7 separate regions of the Homo sapiens genome follow, and all the other regions are linked to region 3. The links are contacts of gene promoters, found by promoter capture Hi-C in blood cells and fetal thymus (Javierre and others, 2016). All regions are on one chromosome and are shown on one strand. The core of a region is centred on a gene start or on the middle of the fragment in contact, and the rest is flanking DNA. Distances in the headings are between cores, read along the strand shown.

Region 1 (3,405 bases), core at 760-3,259, 1.1 Mb before region 3:
AAATAATTAAGTCGGAAATAGGACACTATCAAAAGTAACCTGAACATTTTTTATTATAGATTGATATATTATAGTTGTACATATTTATTGGGTACAAAGTGATGTTATGATATATGTATAGAATGTGAAATTATTAAATCAAGTTAGCTAACATATTCATGATCTCAAATACTAATAATTTTTTTGTGGTGAGAACATTTGAAATTTACTCTCAGTAATTTTGAAATATATAGTATGTTAGTATTACTATAGTCACCACACTGTGCAACAGATCTCAAAAAACATATTCTTCCTGTCTAAACTGAAACTTTGTATCTTTTGACCAATATCTCTTCATTCTCTCCATGCCTCAGTCTCTGATAACTACCATTCTACTCTCTGCTTTTATGAGTTCAGTTATTTTAGATTCCACATATAAGTGAGATGATGTGGTATTTGTTTCTGTGCTTGGCTTATTTCACTTGACATAATGTACACCAGGTTCATCCATGTTGTCGCAAATGAATGATTCCCTTCTTTTTTAAGAATGCATAGGCCGGGCGTGGTGGCTCACGCCTGTAATCCCAGCACTTTGGGAGGCTGAGGCGGGCAGATCACCTGAGGTCAGGGGTTCAAGACCAGCCTGGCCAACATGGCGAAACCCCATCTCTACTAAAAATACAAAAATTAGCTGGGCGCCTGTAATCCCAGCTACTCGGGAGGCCGAGGCAAGAGAATCTCTTGAACCTGGGAGGCAGTTTTCAGTGAGCCGAGATGGCACCACTCTATTCCAGCCTGGGTGACAGAGCGAGACTCTGACTCAAAAAATAAAAAAATAAAAAATAAAAAAAGAATGAATAGTATTTCATTGTGTACATATATACCATGTTTTCTTTATCTGTCCATCTATTGATGAACATGCAGGCTGATTCCATAACTTGGCTACTGTGAATAACCCTGCAATGAACATGAGAGTGCAGATATCTCTTCAACATGGCAATTTCGTTTGCTTTGGATATATACCCAAAGTGGTATTGCTGGATAATATGGTAATTCAAAATATTTTAAGGAGCCTTTGTATAGTTTTCTATAACGGCTGTATGAATTTACATTCCCATCAACAGTGCGTACAGATTCCCTTTTCTCCACATCCTCGCCCACACATCTTTTTTTGTTGTTTTAATAATAGCCATTCTAATACAATCATATCTCATTGTGGTTTTAACTTGTTTTCCTAATGATTAGTGATTTGGGGCATGTTTTTCATTTTCTTTGTTGGTCATTTGTATATCTTCTTTTGAGAAATATCTGTTCAGGTCCCATTCCCATTCGTTAATTGGATTGTTTCTTACCATTGAGATGTTTCGGTTCCTTAAATATTCTGGATATTACAGATGTATCCAGTGCATGGCTTGCAAATATTTTCTCCCAGTCTCTCTAGGTCGCTTCTTCACTCTGTTAATTGTTTCCTTTACTATGTAGAAGCTTTTTTAATTTGATGTAATCCTATTTATCTATTTTGTTGCTGGAGTTTTTGGGGTCAAATACAGAAACTCATTGCCCAGACAAAGGTAGTGTGGTTTTTCTTGCATGTTTTCTTGTAGTCATTTTATGGTTTCAGGTCTAACATTTAGTGTCTAACTCATTTTCAGTTGATTTTTGTATATGGTGTGAGATATACAAAACTGTTCAGTTTCATTCTTTTGCATGAGATACACAGTTTTCCCAGCACCTTTAATTGAAGACACCATCCTTTTTCCCACTGTGTGGATTGGGCATCTTTGGCAAAAATCAATTTTCTGAAAATGCATTGGTTCATTTCTAGATTCTCTATTTCGTTTCAACCATCAATGTATCTATTTTTAGGCCAGTATCATGCTATTGTAATTACTGTAGATTTGTAAAATAGTTTGAAAGCAAGTAGTGCAGCGCCTCCAGCTTTGTTCTTTTTTACTCAAGATTGTCTTGGCTATTTGAGTTTTTATGTTGTTTCATATGAATTTTAGAATGTTTTTGCTATTTCTGTGAAAAATGCCATTGGAAATTTGATAGAAATTGCACTGAATCTGTAGATTGCCTTGGGTCATATGAACATTTTAACAATATTAATTCTTCCAATACATGAGCGTGAAATAATTTTCCATTTATTTGAGTCTTCTTCTATTATTTTCATCAATGTCTTATTCTTTTCAGTGAATAGATCTTTCACATTCTTGGATAAAATTATTCCTAGGTATTTTTTTATAGCTATTGTAAATGGGATTGTCTTCTTGATTTCCTTTTCTGTTAGTTAGCTGTTGGTGTATAGAAATGCTACTCATTTTTCTGTGTTGATTTTGTAACCTGCAACTTTACTGAATTCATGTATTAGTTCTAACAGCTTTTAGTGAAATCTTTAGGGTTTTCTATACATGAGATCATGTCATCAACAATCAGTGACAATTTCACTTTATTCCCTATTTTGATGCCTTCTGTTTCTTTCTCTTCTCTAATTGATCTGATAAGGACTTCCAGTACTATGCTAAATAGAAGTGGTGACTGTGTATATCCTTGTCTTGTTCCTGACCTTAGAAGAGAAGCTTTCAACTTTTCACCACTGAGTAAAATGTTAGCTGTGAGCTTGCCTTTCTTGTGTTGAGGTACCCTTCTACTAGACCTAATTTGTTGAGAGTTCTTATTGTAAAAGGATGTTGGCTTTGTCAAATGTTTTTTCTGCATCTAATAAGATGATCATAGGGTTTTTAACCTTCATTCTGTTAATGTGCTATTTCACATTTTTCGATTTGCATATATTGAACCATGCTTGCATCCCAGGGATAAATCCAACTTGTTCATTGTGAATTATCCTTTTGGTATATTGTTGAATTCAGTTTGCTACTACTGCATTTTGTTAAGAATGATTGTGTCTGTGTTCAACAGAGATATCAACCTATTATTCTCTTTCCTGGTAATTTCCTTCTCTGGCTTTGGTACCAAGATACGAGTTTGGAATTATTCCCTTCTCTACAATTTTTTCAAAGAGTTTGGGAAGGATTGGCATTAGTTCTTTTTTAAATGTTTGGTAGAATTCAGCAATAAAGCCATCAGGTCCTGGGCTTTTCTTTGATGGGAGAGATTTTATTATTGATTCAATTTTCTTACTTGTTATTAACTGTTCAGATTTTTTATTTCTTCATGATAGTAGGTTGTATGTGTCTAGGAATGTATCAGTTTCTTCTAGGTTATCCCATTTGTTGCTGTATAATTGTTCATGGTAATCTCTTATGATTCTTTGTATTTCTGTGGTATCACCTTCAATGTCTTCTCGTTAATTTCTGATTTTATTTTAATCTTCTCTCTCATTTTCTTAGTTTAGCTAGGGGTTTGTCAATTTCAGCTATCTTTTCAAAAAATCTGCTCTTAATGTCATTGATTTGATTATTTATT
Region 2 (3,743 bases), core at 11-2,510, 1.2 Mb before region 3:
AGAGCTTACAAAGGTTTAAGTTCCTCTGAAGCCAGGGCCCCTTTGGTGTATATGTGACCTAAGAGTGACCATTATATAATAGAATGAATGGGAAACTGCCTGTTCACCATGAATCCTAAACAAGTCTAAGTAGTTCTTCTTGTTGAATCATCAACGACAAATCCTTAGGTCGGCAGAGGCCTGAAGTCATTTGTCATCCAAATATAAGGGGAGAGAGGCACATAAAGCCATGTGCAATGTTTAACCTCAGGTTCCAAGTATTTAATTTTGAGTCCTCTTTTCCTCATGGGCTGTCTTCAACTTTCCAAAACAACTTTAATGAAATGCAGCTGGATTCTGTACCTTTTCCAATAATGCAGGAGACAGGAAAAATGATTTTGCTTACTTGCCTACACTTTTTATAAGCTAAAGTGTGAATGAACTATCAAAACCTACTGAAACTTATTAAGCTGAATTCTGTCACCAGTAACACATTTTATAGCTTTTAAAAGAAAAGCTATGGGGAATTTTGAGTAGGACATGGGTATTTAAAAACACAGTTCGCTCATTTAATTGGGAGCTGTACAGCTAAGCTTCAGACAATTTAAGTTTTAAAATTTCTCTTGGGGTTTTAAGGGTATTGATCATAAAATACTTATTTAATACTGTTTGACTGTGTGACTGCTCCTTCGCAGTAAGGGTCATCCTTGCCCTGCTCCCTCCCAGGTATGAAGAGTGGGACATGGTATTCAGCATGTGTTAGTGAAAACACAGAAACAGCCAGCATTCTTCTGAGTACAGTTTTAGGACCTTTCTGCTGCAGTGAAGTCATTTTGGTTATTTCCAGTAAATATTTATTTCATTTGGCACCATGCTTAGCTCCTTATTTATTAATTAGCATTATGTTTCATTCTAATGCTAAAATAGAAGGCTTTCAAGTTATTGAGGATCCCAAATGCATTTATAATAAAATGCTAATATCATCTTTGTATCTTTGGGGATTTTGGTGTTGATAAATTTGAGGGTGTTTTGGAGAGGTTTCTAGCACCATATAGCAGCATATTATAAAACCATGGCAGTTTTATTCTATTAAGAAATCACACCCCCAGACGTATCTGAAAAACTTCCTTTGGAAGATTGCAAAAGGCCAGATGCAAATTTTTTGCTTAAAAAATTAGTCCAGGAATATAAATATCAAATGTTTATGATTTTAGAAGGTCCAAATATCTGTCTGGAATTCTGGGTTGAAGTTAGCAGGTTAAGGTCAAGTTTTTTTGAAAGTCTCTCCAAATATGCAACAGATGACACTGCAATTCCAGCTGTGTTCACCTATTCTTAGAACAAAGCCCTACATGTACTAGGAAATTTCCAATCAGATAAGAAAAACACCAAAGAGAATGGGTAGATTGGTGAGGTGCGGGTATATGGACATTTTTTTTTAAGTGCTGAACAAATCGCCAGGAAATAATTTCTTCGAAGACACTGAGAGGACAGAATTAGCATACAATTCCTTTACATATTCTGTTTTTGCACCTGTCCCCCTGTGACGTCGCAGTCAAGCAGATCTCATGTTAACCGGCTCCCTGGCTTTGGTAGGTGCCTGGGGCTGGAGGCTGGCTTCCACCTCTTCCCTCCAGAGCTGAGCCTCTTTGCCCCGTGAGAATTACCTCCCCACCTTTCTTCCCTCTGCCCGTTCCCTGAGCAATTTAGAGGGGAAAAAAGGGTAAAGTTTTTTTTTTAATAGTCATCGAGTATATGTAAGATTTTAAAACTTGTATCCTCCACTTTGGGTATTAAGGGAAAGCTCAATGATAAGAATCTAATTCTGCAACGTTTGTGGCTAATAATGACGGTGCAAGTTCAAAATTACTCTGAGCTTGTGATAGAAGTCAATAAGTATTCTCTCAGCAACTGTTGTGGGCTGGGTGTTACAGGGGATGAAGAGAGAAGAAAGACACTACCTTCATCTCAAGCTTAGGATCTTCATGAAATTTTTTTTTTTTTTTTTTTTTTTTTGAGACGGAGTCTCACTCTGTTACCCAGGCTGGAGTGCAGTGGTGCGATCTTGGCTCACTGCAAGCTCCGCCTCCCGGGTTCACGCCATTCTCCTGCCTCAGCCTCCCGAGTAGCTGGGACTACAGGCGCCCACCACCACGCTCGGCTAAAATTTTTGTATTTTTAGTGGAGATGAGGTTTCACCATGTTAGACAGGATGGTCTCGATCTCCTGACCTCGTGATCCACCCGCCTCGGCCTCACAAAGTGCTGGGATTACAGGTGTGAGCCACTGCGCTCGGCATGGGATTCTTAAAGTACCTAATTTAAGTTTTTAAATTTCTAGACTACAAGAAAGAATTCAGTAGTTGTGGTAAATGAGGTTAAGATTCTAAGCCATATGATACTGACAATATTTGAACATTTTTATCTATAAAATGGGAGTTTCATGTGGCTCAGCCCTGGTGAGAATTTAGAGCTTGATACATAATGTTCTATAATTTTTAGTTGCAAAATAACAGTAGTTTGAAAGGATTTTTTTTATTATTTTTTTGAGACGGAGTCTCGCTCCGTCGCCCAGGCTGGAGTGCAGTGGTGCAATCTTGGCTCACTGCAGCTCCGCCTCCCAGGTTCACGCCATTCTCCTGCCTTAGCCTCCTGAACAGCTGGGACTACAGGTGCCGGCCACTGCGCCCAGCTAATTTTTTGTATTTTTAGTAGAGACGGGGTTTCACCGTGGTCACGATCTCCTGTCCTCGTGATCCGCCCGCCTCGGCCTCCCAAAGTGCTGGGATTACAGGGTTGAGCCACCGCACCCGGCCTGAAAAGATTTTTAAAATAAATGACCTATGTGTCACTCCCTTTCTTCTTTTGTTGTAGTTATTTAATATCATTTGTTTTTCTAAAATATAAATGAGTAAACTTTCATTTTCAAATGGCCATTCCTTTCTTCACAAACTTTCCGCCTCAAAACAATGCTTTTCTAGATCTTGCTCTCCTTTTCATCTCCTTTTCCTTGATGTCTCCAGAGTACAGACTCCTCTGGAGTGTCTCTTTAAACAGAGTTCATGGAAAGGTGAGCCATTTCACCAAAGAAAGGGGAGAGTAGAGGACTGGCAATGTGCCATTATCATCAGAGCCTCTTGTAAATCAGAATATGTGATAAGTTCTTCACTGAACTAACTCCAAGCAGTAGTATCTCTGTTCAGATTCATTTATCTTGATTTTTTTCATTTACTTGACTTATTTTTGTGCTTTTTACATTGTTAACTGAGATGGCAATGGTACACACAACTATTCTGCTATCCACAAAAATAAAACAACACATAAAACGCCGCAATGCAATTCCCTCTCATCAAACTGATCCACTGTAATAGCTAGGGTGTCATTTCCCCCATGTGGAGGAACTGCAAGTGAGACAGCACAAGCAATGGGTGTCTCAGAAGATCCTACCAAAGTGCATATGAAGAGAAAGTGCCAGGTTGAAACGTCTGCGAAGATCAGAGAGTGTGACACCAGCTCATTACAGTGTCAGACAAGTAAGGACTTTCCAGTGCTTCCCTAAACTCTAACCTTGCAGAGGTCAGAACCTACAATTCATCAGCTGTGGGAGGAGAAGGAGAAACCTTATGTGAGGGAGAGAGAAGGAGCCAGACACACCTCCCGTCATCAACTGCAGCACACAGAAGCTGGGAGAGAGAAAATGCGTTAACTGTAAATCACACTCCGAGTTTTGACTATGACATGGAGTTGGACTTACAAATTAGCAAA
Region 3 (3,884 bases), core at 732-3,231:
AATTAGGCAGGTAATTACTACCAGAAGGACAACTGGGTGCTCGCTTGCTCATCCATTGCTTTCTGCTTTAAACTCCCGAGGAGTCGCTGCCTGGAGACACTCCCGCCCGGACTGCTTCTCGGGCCCCATTAAACGGCTCTGAAATGAACTGTGAAGTTACCATTTGTGGGCGGAGAGCGCTGGGGCCCTGCGGACGGAAGACCCTGGCTTGACCGGACTAACAGTGTCGCCGAAGCAAAGCAGCCCCTCTGGGTAGGCTGTCTGTCTCGCCTCCTACCCTCTGGGGCAACTAGCCTAAAAACCCGGTTCTCAACTTAACAGCATGTGGCCCAGCACCCGCTTTTGCCTTTTATTCCGCACTCTGATTTTTGGGGGGATCGTTTGTTCCCGCTCATTTTCTACAAACATTACGGTATCCTGTTAGCATTCCGAACAAGGGGCTGTTCATATATTTGCCTTCAATGATTTCCTGAAGGGACATGTGGAAGTAATAGCGAGCGGTGCAGTCACCCAAGCTGAAGATGCACGAGAGCGGGTCGCGTAGAAGAACTGCGGCAATGGGACCCCCAGCGCAGCCCCAGGCGCCCTGTTTTCGAGGCTGACATCCCAAGATCCTGTCCTGGTTAGGCACAGCACCGCGCCCGTTGGAGTACTTCTCTGTGACTCTCCCCTGTCCACTGCACTGTGTCCACCCTCCTGGTGAAGGAGGAGACGGCTGTTGGACATGCCAGTCCCAACCTGGCCACTTTGGCCATTTTCAGAGTGCGTGTGTTGGGGTGGGGTTGAGGGAGAAGGATGAAGGATGACCCCCAACCCCAACAGGAGAATTCAAAAATCAGAGAGCGATGAAGGTGAACGCGCTCCCCTCCCCCGCTGTCGCTGGGAAGCCCCACTCTGCCCAGGTCTGGTTCCTGGAGCATCAGCGCCCCCTTTCCCTCGCCGGCAGGATCGTTTCCTCCCGACACTGGCCTCTCGCCTTGGGCGCAGGGTTTGGGGCTCAGCTGTCAATTCCAAGGAATTCGTAGGGTTCGACCCACGCGGCGGGAGGGAACGGAGGGAGAATCAAAAGGCATCCTCCCCCACGACGCGGAGGCGGTGGTACGATTCCTCAAACGCCCAAGCTTGAGCTTTTTTTGTATGCGAGATAGAAGCCAGGGCAACCTCGCCCAGATAACCCCGAAAACAAAGGCACGACCAGATAAGTGACTTCAAGGGAGTAAAGGTCGTTCTATCGGAGAACGTTCCAAACCTACACAGACCCTCTTTTCTTTGTACCGTATTTCAGACCACCCAGTCTTGTACACACACACACACCACACAAAACAAAAACCCATCATTGTCATATTGGACTCAACAGTTTGCCCAATCCTATTAAATAACTAGCAACTATATAGCCCTTCCCCTAAAAGACCCCTAGTTCAAAACGGCGCAACCGCTTGGAGATTTCTCCCGAGGGCCCTATTTCTCGTTGGGCCGAGTTTGTAGAAGGGACATTTCTTGATTCTAGATTTATATTCTCTCTGGGTATTAAATGCAATTTTGTATGTTCCTTTTCTTCTTTTCAAAGAGAATACAAAACTATAGCAGTCTAAGAAAATAACCCCAAAATGGGGAGGCAAACTCATTCTGGAAATGATGGGCTGTTTGTAGTTTCACAAAACCTCTTTCCCGGCAGAGCACCAACACCTCCCCCTTCCACCACCCCCCATCCCATCTGGTCTGCTTCTCCCCGCCCCCCAGTTGTTGTCGAAGTCTGGGGGTTGGGACTGGACCCCCTGATTGCGTAAGAGCAAAAAGCGAAGGCGCAATCTGGACACTGGGAGATTCGGAGCGCAGGGAGTTTGAGAGAAACTTTTATTTTGAAGAGACCAAGGTTGAGGGGGGGCTTATTTCCTGACAGCTATTTACTTAGAGCAAATGATTAGTTTTAGAAGGATGGACTATAACATTGAATCAATTACAAAACGCGGTTTTTGAGCCCATTACTGTTGGAGCTACAGGGAGAGAAACAGAGGAGGAGACTGCAAGAGATCATTGGAGGCCGTGGGCACGCTCTTTACTCCATGTGTGGGACATTCATTGCGGAATAACATCGGAGGAGAAGGTAAGGGAAAAGAAAAAATGATTTTTTGTTTATAAGGGAAGTCCCTGATCAGACTCTGGGACTGGAGAAAGCGAAGTAACTTCAAACTTTGGGCGACAAGAAAAAAAAAAAGGAGCTGGATTCCAGTTGTGTGTCCAGAGAGTAATTTTTTTTTTTCGGAATAAACTTCACTTGGGGACGGGTGGGAGATAACCATAGAGTTAGAAAGTCTAGGTATTTTTTTTAAACACACATTTTCCAGACCTATTTTTAAAAACAATGTTTTTCTAACAACCCTATGGCCTCCCAAAGAAATTGTTTAGGCTTACATTTTTGAGGTTTCTTTTGGGAGTGGGGGTGGTGTTCGTGAATACTGGGCCGAACACCAAGGAACTGGGGGTGGAGGCAGAGGTGTTTGCCCTCTTCTTGGCAGTGGGTCCTGGAAGGCGACAGGTTTTAAATGAGTGTTTTCATTCCTCGCCTGCGGTTTGGCGGGACAGCGCTGCAGCCCATGGTGTGGAGCGCGGCTGGGGGACCAGGGGGAGGTGGGGAGAGGGGAGCGTGGAGGGGAGCGTGGAGGGGGGCGCGCGAAGGGGTTGCGGGGCGCAGGAGGCGGGCTGGGCTCGGCTGGAGACCGGACCTCGGTGTTGGCCTACAGCACAGGGAGCCGGCCGAATGCGCGTGATTACTGGACGGCGCTGCTCTGGGAGAGAGTCGGGGCCAGATTTGGCGCGGCGGTGAGGCGGCTGCGGGACAAGCAGAGGCGCGCGGGCGTGGGCAAGGGTTTGGGGCGCTCTGGAGCGGTTTGTTGGGTCAGTGAGGTGCCAGGGAGAGCGGGTGCCTGCCGGGCAGTGTGCTCGGGTTGCACGCCCTAGCGCGGGGGCGACAGCGGCGGCGCGGGCGGGCGGTCTGGAATAATGACAAACACATTTGGCCCTGAGTGAAGAAGTCGTCGTCGCCTCGCATTCCAGCAACTGGGATTTGAGGAATTTCGAACCGCACACCAAGGGGCCCTCATTGTGCTCCGTGGCCCCCGCCCCCGCCTGTCTTCCCGCGCCCCCTCCTCGGTGGAATCATTTCTGCATTGCCCGGGGGCTCTGCTTTCGCTCAGTTCTGGCCGCAGGCAGGAAGAGAGGAAAGGTCTCCAGGAAGGTGCCGAACTTCTTGTGAGGAAGTTAGGGACGACTTGGAACTGGGGAAACTTGTTTGCAGGTAAGACAGAAAGGTGGGAGGTAAACCATATTCTCCCTCCGGGCACCCGAGCCCTGGACACCCCCTACCCGGCACCCTTCTCCGCGCGGGGGTGCGTGGCACTTGCCGTCTGAGCTCGCCCAGCGCTGCTCGGTCCTCTCTAGTTGGCCTTTTTTCCATTCCTCTCCCTGCCGGCTTCAGAGCCGTCTGTGCGTACTTCTCCTTCCTCTGCTGTCTACCCCCATGGAAACCAGATTTACACACGAAATTAACTCCGCCCGGCTGCGCCCAGGGAGCGGGCGGCGTCCATTTGGCATTGAATATGTGGGATCAGCTGTTCTATTCCGGGAGGGTGTCGGCCAGGTCGGAGCGACGAGTGTGGCCCAACCCGAGTACGTTGCCAGAGGGAGCCAGGAGCCTGGGCCGGGCCAGGTGTGCGAGAGCTGCCGATGGCCTGGCCTCGCGTCTTGGTCGGGAAGGACTTGCTGGCCTGGCAGGCTGTGCGTTGTGCATCCCTCCCGCAGCCAGAGCGCCGGTCCCGCACTTCGCTCCCCGAATTGTGCTAAGACCTCAGGATGTGCGCAAGGAGTGCCTGGAAGAACTTGCCACT
Region 4 (3,669 bases), core at 917-3,416, 1.9 Mb before region 3:
GGAGGCTGAGGCAGGAGAGTCGCTTGAATCCGAGAGGCAGAGGTTGCAGTGACCTGAGATCGTGCCACTGTGCTCCAGCATGTGCAACAGAGCAAGACTCCGTCTCAAAAAAAAAACAAATAAATAAAAAACCAATCTCACAGAGGCATGTTGATAGGAATAGAAGAAAGGATTTTAAAGCAATTTTATTGAGCTCAAGATACCTATTTTTAGATTTTTGTCTGAAATGAAGAAAGGTCTATAATTTCAAAACTTTCATCAATTGAAATAGCATCATATTTGTACCAAAATTACCTTGAGATTTTTCAATGGTTGTCCTTAAATTGCAACACTTAATATCAAAATCCATGCTTCAGATATGGGCTATTAAAACTAGAATATACAATCAGTATCTTGAAAAGATATCTGTACCCCATGTTCAATTGCAACATTACTACAATAACCAAAATATGGAAACAATCTAAGTGTCCATTGATGGGTGAATGGGTAAAGAAAATGTGATACACACACACACACACACACACACACACACAATGGACTATCATTCAGCCTTAAAAAAGAAGGAAATCTTGCCATTTGCGACAACATGGTTGAATCTAGAGGACGTTATATGCTAAGTGAAATAAGCCAGGCACAGAAAGACAAATACTATATGACCTCACTTATATCTGGAATCTAAAGAAGTTGAACTCATATAAGCAGAGAGTAGAATGGCAGTTGCCAAGGAATAGGGAGAGGGGTGAAAAATGAGAGATGGTGGCCAGAGAGTGCAAAGGTTCAGTTATGTGGGAAGAATGGGTTTTGGAGCTGTAATGTACAGCATGGTGATTATAGTTAATAACAATGTATTATATACTTGAAAATTCCTTTAAAAAGTTGATCTTGAGTCTTCTTCCCCCGACCCCCACACACACAAAGTCATAACTTTGGAAAGTGATGGATATGTTAATTAGCTTAGTTGTGGTAATCATTTCACAATTTATATCATCACCTTGTACACTTTAAATATACACAATTTTTGTGTGTCAAGTCTACTTCAATGAAGCTGGAAAAAAAGAGTAGGAAAACATTCCCCACAAAAACCTTCCTCAGTAACCAGATCCCACCCTTCCTGACGTAAGTCCAACAGAATGATAGTTCAGAATCCGAAATGAAGTTGAATCACAGAAAATGCGCAACGTTTTCTTTCTTTTATGCTGGAGTTTGTGAAATGAGAATCATACCCATTAAGTATTTCATATATCAAGAAAGAGTCTCTTAATGGTGTCCTTAGAACCTTATAGACTCTCCCAAAGACAACTGTTTTATTTTACTTAATCGGTGAACACAACCTCTCTGAAATGTAGCATCTTCAAAGACAATCAGTTTTAGTAACATTTCTTCCTTTAATTGATTCTCTTTCTTGTATATTTAACATAAAGAAGAAACATGTGTTCCTGGAAAGATCTATTTTACAAGGCGTTAGATTGGGTCCACAGCCAGATGGAACAAGGCAAGACGTAGAATGTGCAGCAGCCAGTGTGACAGGGCTTGCAGCTCAGACAGTCATTGAGCGCCTTCCTCAAGGTCTCATTAAAGCCTCCATGAATCCCCAGTGCCAAGCATTGCACAAGTGAGAGAAATAACATACTGTTTTTCCATCACCTCTTTCGGTTACAACTGAATTCACTTAGCAAATAATGGAAAAGTAAATGGAATGGGTTTTACCTTCTTTAATAGCTGACATTGCTATGTTGATCTTTTCCCATACAATAGTAGCAGCCCTAGCACCAACAATGGATTTTATTCTGGTCAGTGACATTTTCTTGAAGGAATCCCAAGTTTAATAAAATGGAGAAATATTTCTTACAATTGACATAAAGCTTTCTGACTGTAAGTCATAAAATCTGGAAGAAAACACCTTAGTCCAGTGTTGCTGTTTTTCCCCAAGGTAGTTATTAACAAACACACAAGGCTAGCAATAAAATTCAATGATGTTTCTAACAACAGGAGAAAAATTATTGCTGAATCTGCTGTAGTAAGTAATTAATATAAGGCAAATAATGACACTGTGGGATTAGGAGCAGGAAAAATTCATTAAAATGCTCTTTGTGTACTTAAAGCAGTTTGCATATCCAAGTGAATTACTTGAATGCTGGAGGACATTTACCCTCAGCATCTGTTTTATTATCCACTAGGAACCTGTGCACATACCTTGGTGAACCTCATCCTTGCTCCACCAAGATAAACATGCCAGAAAGGGATTGGGTTTGGCCAAGAATGAAGCATTCACTACACCATCAAGCATTTTCTTCTTTGTCATAAGGGAGCACTCAACTGGTTTTCCAAAGGCACACGTGCAAAATAGAATTAGCTCTGCCTAGTTGTGATGGCTCTTCCTCCTTCCTGTGGGGACAGCCCTGCCTCAGTGCACTTTCATAAGGGCAGCGTCTTTCCCCCATGGGACCTGTGTGATTTATAACTCTGAAGAAAAGCTTACACTCCATCTAATTGGGTGGTCAACATTTGGACTCAATTTTGAAATTCATTTTCTGTTACTCTTTGTAAACCTAACAAAATAAACAAGTGTAGTTAATTTAGATGTCTCTGGGCAATTTTCATCCATATGTACCTTGCGGCTTAAATTAAAAAGCAATTAAACCAGAAGACTCTATTTTGCTGTCAGAAAATTGCTCTCTTAAAGGGGGGGTGTGTGTGTGTGTGTTCACGCATGCGTGTGCATGTGTGTTTCCAATAAATAAACATAGTGAGTCATTGGATTGTAAGCTCGTTGAGGCATAATCTTGTTTAAACAAAATGTTTAATTCAGTTATTTTTATTTATCCTTTTAATCAACAAATATTTACTATGTGCCTGGCACTATCAATCAGTGGATAAATGAATGAAGAAATAAATGAACAAATGAATTAATAAACCATCCACTTCATGGCCTTGTCATATCTCTCCAACATTACATCCTCTTGTTTTTCATGCCCTGAAAAAAATACAGCAATTTACAAAAACTCCTTGCAGCCCACAGATCTTATACTTTGGAGTGAACAAGCAGTACCGTTGCTAGTATTATGGAAAAAACCATGTTTTTAATATAAAGTATATGTACCTCCATGGTAATGAATAATTCACCTGAGTACCTACTGGATTTACATACACTATGGGTATTTTGATAATATCAGTTAACATGAAGCCTTTACTTTGGCTGGAAAAATATTCTAAGTTTTAATATACAGTAGTCCCTCCTTATCCACAGGTGATACATTCCAGACCCACAGTGGACACCTGAAACTGTGAATGCTAGCCAACCCTATATATACTATGCTTTTTCCTATACATACATACCTATGATAAAGTTTAAGTTATAAATTAGGCACAGTAGGAGATTAACAACAAAAACTAAAAATAGAACAATTATAATAATATACTGTAATAAAAGTTATGTGAATGGGGTCTCTCTCTCAAAATATTTTGTTGAACTGTACCAGTGGGTAACTGAAATCTTGGAGAGCAAAACTACAGATAAGGGGGACTACTGTGTCTTCTTATTTAATCCTCACAACAACCCTATGATGTAGGTATCACCCCTACTTCATATCTGAGGAAACTGAGATACAGAGAGGTTGAGTAACTCCTGTAAGTCTGCACAGCTATTCAGTAAGAGTGCCGAGCTCTTGG
Region 5 (3,476 bases), core at 460-2,959, 1.4 Mb before region 3:
TTTTGTCATGTCTCTGTGTGTGTGTGTGTGTGTGTGTGTGTGTGTGTATGTTAAACTAGTACTTTAGCCTACATCATTATTTTACCATGTAAGCATGATAGAATAGCAGGCTTTTTGGAGGGGAAAGATTTTAAAAGTACATGGTTACCTGTAATTACAGTCTTGCAAAGTTTGATTTTATAGAAGTGACATTCAAGTCTGATTTAAACCATGCAGAAAGACATGGTGCATATTGGAAATGCTTTTTCTTTCTGACTCAAATGGCTGTTTCGTTCTAGTGATCTCCCTAGAAGTCAGCCTTTTATTATGTTTATTGTAAGGTTGTGTGTCTTTCTAATTACGTGGCCCATCCTAGAAAACTTGCTACCTTGAGATTACCTTTCTATTTCTCCTTGCATTCCTGCAAACACCTAAACCTCTGTAGACAAGAGGTTCATCTCAGAGTCTGAACTGGCTGAGGATCATAAAATTCTGTCAAATACCTGGTCAATTAAGTTCTGGCTGGAAGAGGGGGTCAAATTAGATGACTGACATGTGCGGATAAGGGCACTGGTTTATTTCACATTTTAGCCTTTAATGTGGGTGGGTACACAAAGCCACAGAGTTTGTTGCCATACCCCAACATAAAAGCCTCTGGGACAAGGTTGAAAGGGTAGCGGGGAGAGGGCCTTGGATAGCGGATGGGGTGGTTAACCCGCGACTCTGGTGACATTTTGCCATCAGCCGCTGGTGACATCTTGCCATCAGCTGCAGCTACAGAATGTTGCTCGCAGGAGGAATTTGGCCTGCCGTTGAAGATGTGTTTCTCAGATGAGACTGTAAGGGGCCGGAGCTTGGGATTTTAGGAGTGCAGGGCCCACCTCTTCCTTGGTATCAAGCCACTTAACTAAACTCTTGCGGTGTCTTATGACCAGGGACGAAGTGCGGGGCCCCTTCAGACGTCGCAGCTGGAGTAACTGTTTTCTTTCCATTTCACAGCTCTTGAAGGAGGTGTGACTGAGTGAGGCGCTGGAAAGCTTGTTCTATAATTACTTCTTGATCCGCTTCTAGGCGTGCTGTGCATGCGTCCGACCATGTGTGTTTGCGTTAGCTTGCGCCGTCGACAAGAGCCAGAGAACGTGGGTCTAGGATAAAACGTGGATGATATTTTTGCTTCAAATGTCACATTTTACGGGGGTCTAAAGGTCTTAGGCTGGAGTCTTTGCGGATGATTGCCAACTGTAGCTGAATCTATGAGCTGGGATGTACCCAAGCCAGTGCAATCGCTCCAAATCAGGGCGGGCGGCACTAAGCCGGGGAGCAAACACCGCTCCCGGCCCGCCCAGAGCAGACGCCCTAGGTTGGGGCTGCAGCGAGTGCGCGCGTGGGCTGTGGAGCCGGCGGAGGCAGCGGTCCGGAATGGCTCTGTGGAGGCTGCGCTCTCTTCCTGGCCCCGCAGCCACAGCAGCTGCCCCATGCTCGCGCGGCAGGACCTACCAGGCGCCCACCCTGGGCTGCGCCGCCTCGGACCACCCGCTGCTCCCCTCCGCCCGCTGCCTCTTCTCCCCGCGCCTCACGGGGCTCCGCACTGACTCCAGGCGCCTCCGGGGGCGTCGCGCGCGCGGAGCGGCGCCGGGGGCGGGGCCTCGTGTAGGGCGCCCCGGGATTGGCTGTGGGGAGAGGGGGCGGGGCCGGCCGCGGAGAAAACAGCCGGCGCGCCGCGCGAGTGCAGTCTGGGTCTGGAGCCTGAGCCCTGCGGAACCTCGGCGCTCGGCCCCACCCCGCCCGTACCTGCACTTATTTATTGTTGTTATTTCTTACCGCGGAGCCCCGCAGTCGGGTCCTCCCGCCCGCTCCCGCGCAGCGCTAGCATTCTCCAGTCCCTCAGTCCCTTCCCGCGCGGTGCGCCGCAGCCGAGGCGATGCGCCTCATTCAGAACATGTGCACCATCGCCGAGTACCCCGCGCCGGGCAACGCCGCGGCCTCCGACTGCTGTGTGGGCGCCGCCGGCCGCCGCCTGGTCAAGATCGCCGTGGTGGGCGCCAGCGGCGTGGGCAAGACCGGTGAGTCGTCGCGCTTAGCCCTGGGTCTGGTCTTGGACGACCCCTGACGGGAGTTGAGGCTGAACAAGGCGTGGGGAGCGGTGGGAGCTGCAGCCCGACCGCTCTCCGTCCCCGCGCAGGGAGCCGCTGCCCCTTGGGAGTGGGCTTAGCCGTTGTCTACGCCACCCGCCTGCTTCCACAGACGGGGGAAACAAGGATCAAGAATGGCCAGGCAGCTTTCTGGGGACCACCGGCACCGCCGCCATCAGAACTTTGGGGTGTTTGAGCCTCTGGCAATGCCTGGCACAGAAAGGGGAGTTAGTGAAGCTAGCCCCCCTGGGAGGTCTTGAAGGTTAGGAAGACATGGGTCTACTGGAAGGCTTAGGTGTGGCTCAGCCGGGCTCAGAGGAGGGGGTGGGCCCAGTGAGCCTTCCAGCTGCACAGAGCCATAATTCACGATGCCTTCTAGCCCCCTCCTTTTTGTCTGGAAAGAAGGGTCAAGGAGCTACAGGGTAGGAATTTCACTTGGTGGCCATCTATGGCTTTCTTTGGGAGAACTGTTTTCCAGGCAGGGGGTGGGGTGGAGAACAATCTAACTTCCAAGGTTAACACTTTGACGTTCTTTTTTCTGACGTGCAGCACTGGTGGTCCGGTTCCTCACCAAACGATTCATCGGTGACTATGAAAGAAATGCAGGTGAGACAATGCATTTGAGAAAAATTCTGTCCCATTGCAGGAGGACTGCGGTTCCCATTTTCCAGCGCTTCCCAGGGAGGTTCTTTCAGTGACAGTCCGAGCCTGAGGATCCCGCCACTTAAAACTTTCCCCAGTCCCCAGCCCTCCATGGCGCCCCCCTCCCATAACTACCATCTGGCCTCATTCCATTCCAAGCCCATTCATCATTTTATCAAGTGCCTGAAAGTATTCCCCTTGGTATGTTTTAACTATAGTGACCCCAGTTGGAAGCACCCTTTGTAGTCAAGAACCTCTCCCTTCAAAACACTCCTGCAAAAGTCGTAAAAAAAAAAAAAAGGAGTCCCTAGCTCCTTCCCCCACCCCTCTCCTTCTCTGCTGGCTGCCTTTCAGAGGTGACCTTTTAAAGCAAAGGCCAAAGGAGAGCAGTTGTAAACCTAAAGTTCCTCCTTCTTAACAAAGACAAACAACTGGATGGTAGAATTTTAGGAGGAGAATTCCCGAATAAATGAGAGGACACATTTTTCAATCCTTATGATTAAGAATAGCCACTGGGGAGGCTTAAGAGCTTTCTGCCTATGCTCTGTTAGCAAATTGCTTAACTCTGTAGACCATATGAGTACCTATAGGGGATTATTTGAAATGAGCTGTATAAGCTATCCCAAGATAAGACATGGCAGCCTTCTGATTTGATGTAGAGTTGATTATAATTATATCACATTTTTATTCCAACTGATAACATTGGCTGTGTGTTTACTAACA
Region 6 (3,570 bases), core at 900-3,399, 1.2 Mb before region 3:
GTTCCAGAGTCCCTTTAACTCTGGTCCTGTTACCACCTCAATCATCACACATTGGCTCAGATTATCGCAGGGCCCAAGCATTTTGAAGAAAGCAGTCCTTGGTAACCTGAAGACATTGACACAGCTTCTAAACCCCTCTTGACTCCCCCTAGAATATTAGCTTAGGCTCTGTGAGTATCCACTGCATTTGTCCCACTGGTTATACTCTACCTTATCTATTCACAGATAAACAGGGCACATGTGATTAATCCAACCTGTGGGCATCTCCACGGCCCCTCTGTGTGGCTCTGCTGAAAGCTTCCATTACTATAGTTACGAAAAAAAGGAATGGAATGAACAGAAGAAGGGGGTAAGAAATAGAGGGGAAGGTGGCTTAGCCCTTCTGGGTGGCCACATCTGAAACAGAAATCTATACTTGGTCATATAATACCACATTCAGTTTTTCAAACTCTCAAATCACACTTATACAAATAAAAATATCTTTATTTCCAAGTTATCATGAATGAAGCACAGATAGGGATATCCTTCTTACAATGAAATTAGAAAATCAACATTAAAATAAACATTCTTGTTAATCTATGAGAACATCTTTTAGTTTAATTGATGCCAAACAACATAGATACTTCCAAACCAAAAAACACATCAAAGAAAACATATATTCTCCATGCTGCTGATGGAGAATGCCTAGTAAGTACAATTTAGAGATCACACAGTAGGCAGATAGTTATTTCTCAATCTCTATCAGTTTATCAAAGCACAATTTTTCACTGCCAAGTAGGACTCTTATGCTAATTTTTCACTCTTATGCCATCTCAGCATGTTCTGTTGTGATCTACCGACTATCCAAGAGCTGAATATTTCCATTATAAATGCTAAAAATTTGAGTTAAAAAAAGAGATTTTGAAAAAGCTATTCAATTGATGCGGGAAAAACTACCACATTGTGAGCTCCTGGAGGACGAGGCCCCTGTGGCCTGCTGCTGTGCACCACAGCACACACACAACATTTATTTAACTGGAGTCACCTCATGGATCTTATGGACTGGATTTTTAAATAATAGTTTGTCAAAATGTAACCTCTGTTAAATACATGTATAAAACTAACATACTTGATTTCCACAGGGATAATTTCATATGTTAAAAGTTTCAAGAAATCTTTTTACTTAGACTGAATTATGTTCTTATGTACTTTCATGAACATGGATATGTAAATGACTACGGTTTTTCATTTTTTTTTTCTTTCTCCTTCTCAGGAAAAATTTCATACAATTTTCCAGAAAAGTAAGCTATCACCACCAGAAAAACAACAACAACAACAAAATAAGACACAGAAAAAACTAAAATTCTTTTTGTTAAACTGTGATTACAGAGTTTCTTCCACACTGTTTAAATTGCCCCTCAGTTCCACTCAGAGATTCTAGGAAACTCGCTGCTTTCAGGAGTAGAATATTCCCATTGTAAAAGACATTTCAAGAATATCCAGTCCAAGTCCTGCATTTAGAAAGGAAAACTTGCCCAGAGCCCACTGCTAATTAGAGGCATAACTTAATTAAGTTCCACCAGGGCAGGAGTTATCACTGTGCTTCCGACGCCTAGCACAATGCCTGGTACATGGTTGACATTCTATAGGTATTTGTTGGCTAAACAGATGACTTAACATGAGATAAGAATGCTGCCTCCAATTTCCTAGTGCAGTCCTGCTACAGCAACATAGCCACAAGGCCAGTTTTTAAATGATGCACTAAATGGGAAACAAGGATATCAGAGCCATGTTTGAAGATTAGCATTTTCAGGGCTGAATTAATCTTGCCAGCTAGGGACATGTGGATAAAATTACAGTGAGAACCCTGCAAATCCATACTGGCTTATCATCATGTAGCGTTTTAGGCAATCACTCTAGGAGCCAGATCCTTTTGGGTGTCTGAAATACTCCATAACTTCTAGACAACTAGAGTAGTAGTACTGCCATTACTTGAAGGTCACTCTAATAGGATACAGTGCAGGGCAAGCAGAAAAAACATAAAATGCAAACTTTTAAATTCAAACCATCATTTTTTCTTAAAAGGAAAAGGCAAGAAATGGAGAATGACAAATTCCAAAGTTGACAATGGTTACTAAACTCTTTCAGTTTTTTCCCTGCTAGTGAAAGTGTATAACTTCTCTGGCCAAATGATATGTGTACAAATTACTGTTTTGAAACAGCAATGAATTGCCTGTCACCCTAGTGACCTGATAGAGTTAATATACACCAAGGTAACAATCTCCTTAAGTTCCTAATTGACCACATTATCAGTGAACAGACCTGTCTTTTGTTGAGCTAGCCTCATCCAGAACCATGGGCTTTTTTCCCTGAAGGGTTCTAAACTCCAGAGTTCTGCAAACACATCCTCTCAGCTTACCCTGTTCTTCCCATCCTTCCAGGCCTTGTTTGTCCACCCTCCTTCATGAGGTCTGCTCAGTTACCCAGCCCCACACACTTCTTTTTTTTTTTTGGCCACAGTCTGATGCACCTTCAGGAAAGAACTGGTCCAGCTCTGAAGTGTCCTGCGCAGTGATGTAGGTAAAGTGGGCTGACCTGCTCAGTGTTGGTTTTCCAACGTCCTTGGATAGGGTGATTAGAGAAATCTCTCCCAGCCCCAAGAGTCTATAACTCCACCTACTCTTTGCATTTGTTACTTTGGCAATTCTTTAAGTTCTTCACCTGGAAGTCTGGGAGTGATCTACAGAAGAGTATGAACAATTAATATACATATATTTAATAAAAAGTAGGCTGGTAGCGGTGGCTCATGCCTGTAATTCCAGCATGTTGGGAGGCCAAGGCAGGCGGATCACTTGGGACCAGGAGTTCGAGACCAGCCTGGCCAACATGGCAAAACCCTGCCTTTACAAAAAATACAAAAATTTGCCAGGTGTGGTGGCACCCACCTGTAGTCCCAGCTACTCGGGAGGCTGAGGTGGGAGGATCGCTTGAGCCCAGGAGGCTGAGGCTGCAGTGAGCTGCATTCAAACCACTGCATTCCAGCCTGGGTGACAGAGTGAGACCCCATCTCTAAATAAATACATAAAGAAAAACAATAAAGAAAGAAAGTAAAGTAAGTACATTTTTGTACTAATTAAGATTTTATTTTTTTTTTCTTTATGGGATAGACTATGGTAGCAATATTAAAGTTTTAAGAAAAATATATGTGGGCGGGCATGGTGGCTCATGCCTGTAATCCCAGCACTTTGGGAGGCCGAGGCAGCCTGATCACTTGAGGTCAGGAGTTTGAGACCAGCCTGGACAATATGGTGAAACCTTGTCTCTACTAAAAATACAAAAATTAGCTGGGCGTGGTGGCAGGCTCCTGTAGTCCCAGCTACTTAGGAGGCTGAGGCATGAGAATCACTTGAACCTGGGAGGCGGAGGTTGCAGTGAGCAGAGATTGCGCCACTGTACTCCAGCCTGGGTGACAGAGCAAGACCCTGTCTCAAAAAATAAATAAATAAATAAATAAAAGAGAAAAAGAAAAATATGAGAGAAATGCTTAAAGTTTTATTCTTTAAATTCTTTTTGTTGTCAAATTAGACAAAA
Region 7 (3,663 bases), core at 1,002-3,501, 1.2 Mb before region 3:
AGCCCCAAGTTCTGGCCAATTCTGCACCCTCAACCACTTCCACTTTTTCATAAGGAGAAGTTTGTGAGGTTTCCCTCTCCTCATACATTAAATTAAAGAGACAGCTGTAAGCACTATAAGATCTTCATGTTCCTTCATCGATAAGTAAGGCTGATTATTCCATTAAAACAGACTCCTGTTTTGGGAAAGATGATTCATTTTCTTAAATTTGCATCTATTTCCTGAAGTCCTTTGGCCCCTTAAAGAAGGGTCAAGCTATAATAAGATGGAACAATAAAACATTCAATCAGAGAGACACAAAGAGTATTACATTTAAAAAAAGGATTATATGCTCTTATCCTGACTGAAGCATGCTTCATAGTTGTGCTTTAGAATAACATCTAGATTCTACTGAAACCTTCTACCTTGAGTGTGCATTCACAAAAGTAAAGCCGACATTCACCAACAGGGTTTTCTGCCACATACTTCATTGTACTAACTGGAGAACTTGCCCTTTAATAAGCCCTACTGAGTGTTATGCACTCCACTCCACACTCCAGGAGAAAAGAGGAAGGAGGGGGACCCAGCACTGTGTGTGTTCCTGGCCAAACCTCTCCCTCCCCGACTCCTGACGCTCCTTCAACCCTCACTGCCTCATGACTGCAATCTGCTTTGGGAACCATCAGGACCATCAAAAGCATGTCATGCATCCCTTTGTACATCTGTCACCAGAGGGACCCAGTCATTCCTCATCACTCCTGTTCCCAAGATGGGCTCTGAAAATTCCTGCTCTCCCTCCATTTCCCCTTGCCCAGCCCCCAATCACTGTGCCTTCTGGACTCATGTCCATCACCAGCAAAAGCCTCTATGTTCTCAACTTCTTTGAAACTTCCTTTCACCTTGCTCCACCTAAAATTGGCTCTCCCCTCTACCATAGCTCTCTGAAGCAGTGGTTGTTTTCTCTCCTACAAACTTCACACCATTGGGCCTGGAGGTGAAGTAGATATTCGCCTTTCATCAAAAATAGGGGCAATATTGCCAATAGCAGCTATCTTCAAGAATACCCAGAGATTTTACTTGTTTGGCTTTAGAAGCAAACTGCTTTAAGGGATAAACTCCAGTCCAAGAATAAACATGCCTCTCCTGTCCTTGCTGAGTTACCTAAGTTATTAATAGCTTACTTAGTTAACTGAAGCAGGTTGTTTTCTTCAAATTCACAGGTTTTTTATTGAGTATAACCTGTTCTGTTTTAGGTTTTGAGGCAAGCTTAAAATATAGACTGTCCTCCCTAAACCTAATCTAGCTGGGGAAACAGAAGTTCATGTGGGAAATGACTAAAGGCATGCAAGTGATTTCCAAAGACCACATGTAAAACTCATTTTCATGCAGAGATCCCAGACTCAAGGCCTCTGGAAGTCAGGAAGGAGCATGGATTCAGGAACAGGCTGGGTAGAGGCCCTCACAAGTGAAGGGCATGGACCCCACCTGAACAGGGCAGCTCCTGCTTGCTCTGGCCAACTGTTGCTGTGGCCTATGGATCCCAACAGCCAGATCTTCCATTTTTTCAAGAGACACTAGAAATGCAGGTTTTAAAATGAAATATGGGCTGGGCACGGTGGCTCACGCCTATAATCCTAGCACTTTGGGAGGCCGAAGTGGGAGGACTGCCTGAGGTCTGGAGTTTGAGACCAACCTGGGCAACGTAATGAGACCCTGTCTCTAAAAAAAAATTAAAAATCAGCTGGGCATGGTGGTACGTGCCTGTAGTCCCAGCCACTCAGAAGGCTGAGGGGAGGATTGCTTGAGCCCGGGAGTTTAAGGTTACAGTGAGCCATGATTGTGCCACTGCACTGCAGCCTTGGCAACAGAGTAAGACCTTGTTGAGAGGAGAGAGAGGGAGAGAGGGAGAGGGAGAGAGAGAGAGAGAGAGAGAGAGAGAGGGAGAGAGAGAGAGAGAGAAAAGAAAGAGAGAAAGAAGGAAAGGAAGGAAAGAAGGAAGGAAGGAAGGAAGGGAGGGAGGGAGGGAGGGAGGGAGGGAGGGAGGAAGGATAGACTTGTTACTGATAATTGTTGCTTTGAAAATTTAAAAGCACTGTGAGAGGTAGCTTAGTACAGAGTTAAGAGCATGGATTCTGGAGCTAGACTGTCTAGGTTCAAATCCTAGCTCAAGCACTTATTATAGGTATGTTCTGGGGCAATCTACCTCACTTCTCTATGTGTCAGCATCTGTACCTGTAAAATGGAGGTAATAATAGTATCCAACTCTAAGTGTGGCTTAACAGCACCTGGAAGTACTCTATCAAAGTTTGATAACTGCTAATTGTCTGCCTAAAGTCAGGCTGCCAATTGGCAACCTCTACTCACTAGCCATCCTTCCTACATATCCATGAAACATTATTTATAAGCATGAGGAGCATTGGTCTTAGTGCATTTAAGTCAGTACATGAGAGAGCATTTTTAGGTGCTTATGAGTGTGGCAGACTGTAAGAGCTAGGAGATCTCAAGAAGAGCTTCATGCTGAACAGAGAGGCTTCCTTAAGAAGATGAACATGAGCTGGGCTCTAATGAATGATGTTCCTGGCTGGAGAGCAAAAAGGAGAGGGTTACAGGAAGGTGGGTACATCAGTCAAAGTCTCTGCAGGAAACAGATAACTCACTCAAACTAGGTAATTTGAGGAGAGTTGAATAAAAGGACTATGTACAAACATGTGGGCAAGGTTAAAGGAAACTAACGAGTGGAGGGCTAGTAGTCCAGGGTCATGCGTAGGCCCAAGGAGCCCATGCAGGAAGCACTAGAATACAGAGAAAACAGCTCCATGGAGAGGGTGGCCTCATTCTCCTCTTAAAACCTACAGCTGATGCCTCTGCATTAGCCAATCCCATCCAGAAACCATAGGGCAAGAGAGCCTACTGGTGCAGTCCATGTAGAATGACACCCCCCCTTCCCCTCTCCCTCCCCACCCTGGCACAGAGCATCATGGAGAAGCATGGAGAAGGCAGAATAATGAGCACAATGGGAAAGATGAAGCAAAAGGAGAAGAAACTAAAATGTGCTTGAGAGAAAGAAAACTATTCTAAGACTTAGTTTTTAAACTTATCATATTCATTTGCTCTCCCTAACGTCCAATAAATAACAACAACAACAAAACTCTTTACAATGTTGGAAGGACACTGTAGCTATGTAAACTTGCTCAGTGAGGTGGGGAAGAGAAAGGGTAAAAAGTCAGCCAGGGTCAGGGAATGGAGAGGTGCATGTATAAAACGCTCTTCAAAATAATGAAAGCTTTCTAGAGAAAAAAAAGCACAAATCTACAAAACTGTTGAACTTGAATGCTTAGCCAGGTTTTCAGAGAAAAGCTATAGAATCCAGCTGCTATTATTTTAATGGGCATGAACTGAAACTTAATAGAATGTGACTGGCCTCAAAGTTCAATAGAAGTACTTTCCAATTGTCTATAATCTCACTATCATGCAGAACGATCTGCTTGATTCAGCCAAAACTTAAATGAGTTTCTTCTATGTACTTTTCTCTTTTGATGGTGCAGAAGAGATGTGTGATCCTGACAGAACAATCTAAAGCCTGATGTGGAGATCTGGGTCTTAACAACCCCTCTAAAAGCACTGTGGGGACTCTAATGGCTTTCCTTTGGATGGTCAGCCACACCTCCCAACTACCTTTGACGA

What was found. Contacts are between HindIII fragments. The CHiCAGO score rates a contact against its expected background, and 5 or more counts as called.
Region 1: a fragment that was not itself captured here is called in contact with the fragment with the promoter of PDGFRA in region 3 in 1 of 17 cell types (naive CD8 T cells); the score reaches 5.1 in naive CD8 T cells.
Region 2: a fragment that was not itself captured here is called in contact with the fragment with the promoter of PDGFRA in region 3 in 2 of 17 cell types (endothelial precursors and fetal thymus); the score reaches 6.9 in endothelial precursors.
Region 4: a fragment that was not itself captured here is called in contact with the fragment with the promoter of PDGFRA in region 3 in 2 of 17 cell types (total B cells and non-activated CD4 T cells); the score reaches 7.5 in total B cells.
Region 5: a contact is called between the fragment with the promoter of RASL11B here and the fragment with the promoter of PDGFRA in region 3, in 1 of 17 cell types (monocytes). The highest score is 5.2, in monocytes.
Region 6: a fragment that was not itself captured here is called in contact with the fragment with the promoter of PDGFRA in region 3 in 2 of 17 cell types (endothelial precursors and erythroblasts); the score reaches 6.2 in endothelial precursors.
Region 7: a contact is called between a fragment that was not itself captured here and the fragment with the promoter of PDGFRA in region 3, in 5 of 17 cell types (erythroblasts, fetal thymus, endothelial precursors and 2 more). The highest score is 9.2, in erythroblasts.

Annotation. Positions count from the first base shown.
Region 1 is chr4:53,168,561-53,171,965 of GRCh38, forward strand. The region is part of intron 4 of SCFD2 (sec1 family domain containing 2); the gene reads right to left. Among named protein-coding and RNA genes, the nearest start is that of SCFD2, 200 kb to the right of the region's middle. The HindIII fragment of the contact is 1,094 bases long and covers 1,463-2,556 here.
Region 2 is chr4:52,984,522-52,988,264 of GRCh38, forward strand. The region is part of intron 5 of SCFD2 (sec1 family domain containing 2); the gene reads right to left. Among named protein-coding and RNA genes, the nearest start is that of SCFD2-AS1, 59 kb to the left of the region's middle. The HindIII fragment of the contact is 1,380 bases long and covers 571-1,950 here.
Region 3 is chr4:54,227,312-54,231,195 of GRCh38, forward strand. It overlaps PDGFRA (platelet derived growth factor receptor alpha), which reads left to right and starts at 1,982. Exons shown (of 23, transcript NM_006206.6): 1 at 1,982-2,104. RefSeq lists an enhancer at 455-1,280. The HindIII fragment of the contact is 8,996 bases long and covers 1,120-3,884 here.
Region 4 is chr4:52,365,266-52,368,934 of GRCh38, forward strand. No RefSeq gene overlaps it. Among named protein-coding and RNA genes, the nearest start is that of USP46, 290 kb to the right of the region's middle. The HindIII fragment of the contact is 612 bases long and covers 1,861-2,472 here.
Region 5 is chr4:52,860,608-52,864,083 of GRCh38, forward strand. It overlaps RASL11B (RAS like family 11 member B), which reads left to right and starts at 1,710. Exons shown (of 4, transcript NM_023940.3): 1 at 1,710-2,042; 2 at 2,661-2,717. The coding sequence starts at 1,901. It overlaps LOC124900700 (a long non-coding RNA gene), which reads right to left and starts at 1,598. Exons shown (of 2, transcript XR_007058115.1): 1 at 1,477-1,598; 2 at 542-1,124. RefSeq lists silencers at 1,274-1,763, 1,735-2,029. The HindIII fragment of the contact is 3,261 bases long and covers 1,015-3,476 here.
Region 6 is chr4:53,024,779-53,028,348 of GRCh38, forward strand. All of the region lies in intron 5 of SCFD2 (sec1 family domain containing 2), which reads right to left. Among named protein-coding and RNA genes, the nearest start is that of SCFD2-AS1, 99 kb to the left of the region's middle. The HindIII fragment of the contact is 3,708 bases long and covers 296-3,570 here.
Region 7 is chr4:53,005,416-53,009,078 of GRCh38, forward strand. All of the region lies in intron 5 of SCFD2 (sec1 family domain containing 2), which reads right to left. Among named protein-coding and RNA genes, the nearest start is that of SCFD2-AS1, 80 kb to the left of the region's middle. The HindIII fragment of the contact is 2,017 bases long and covers 1,244-3,260 here.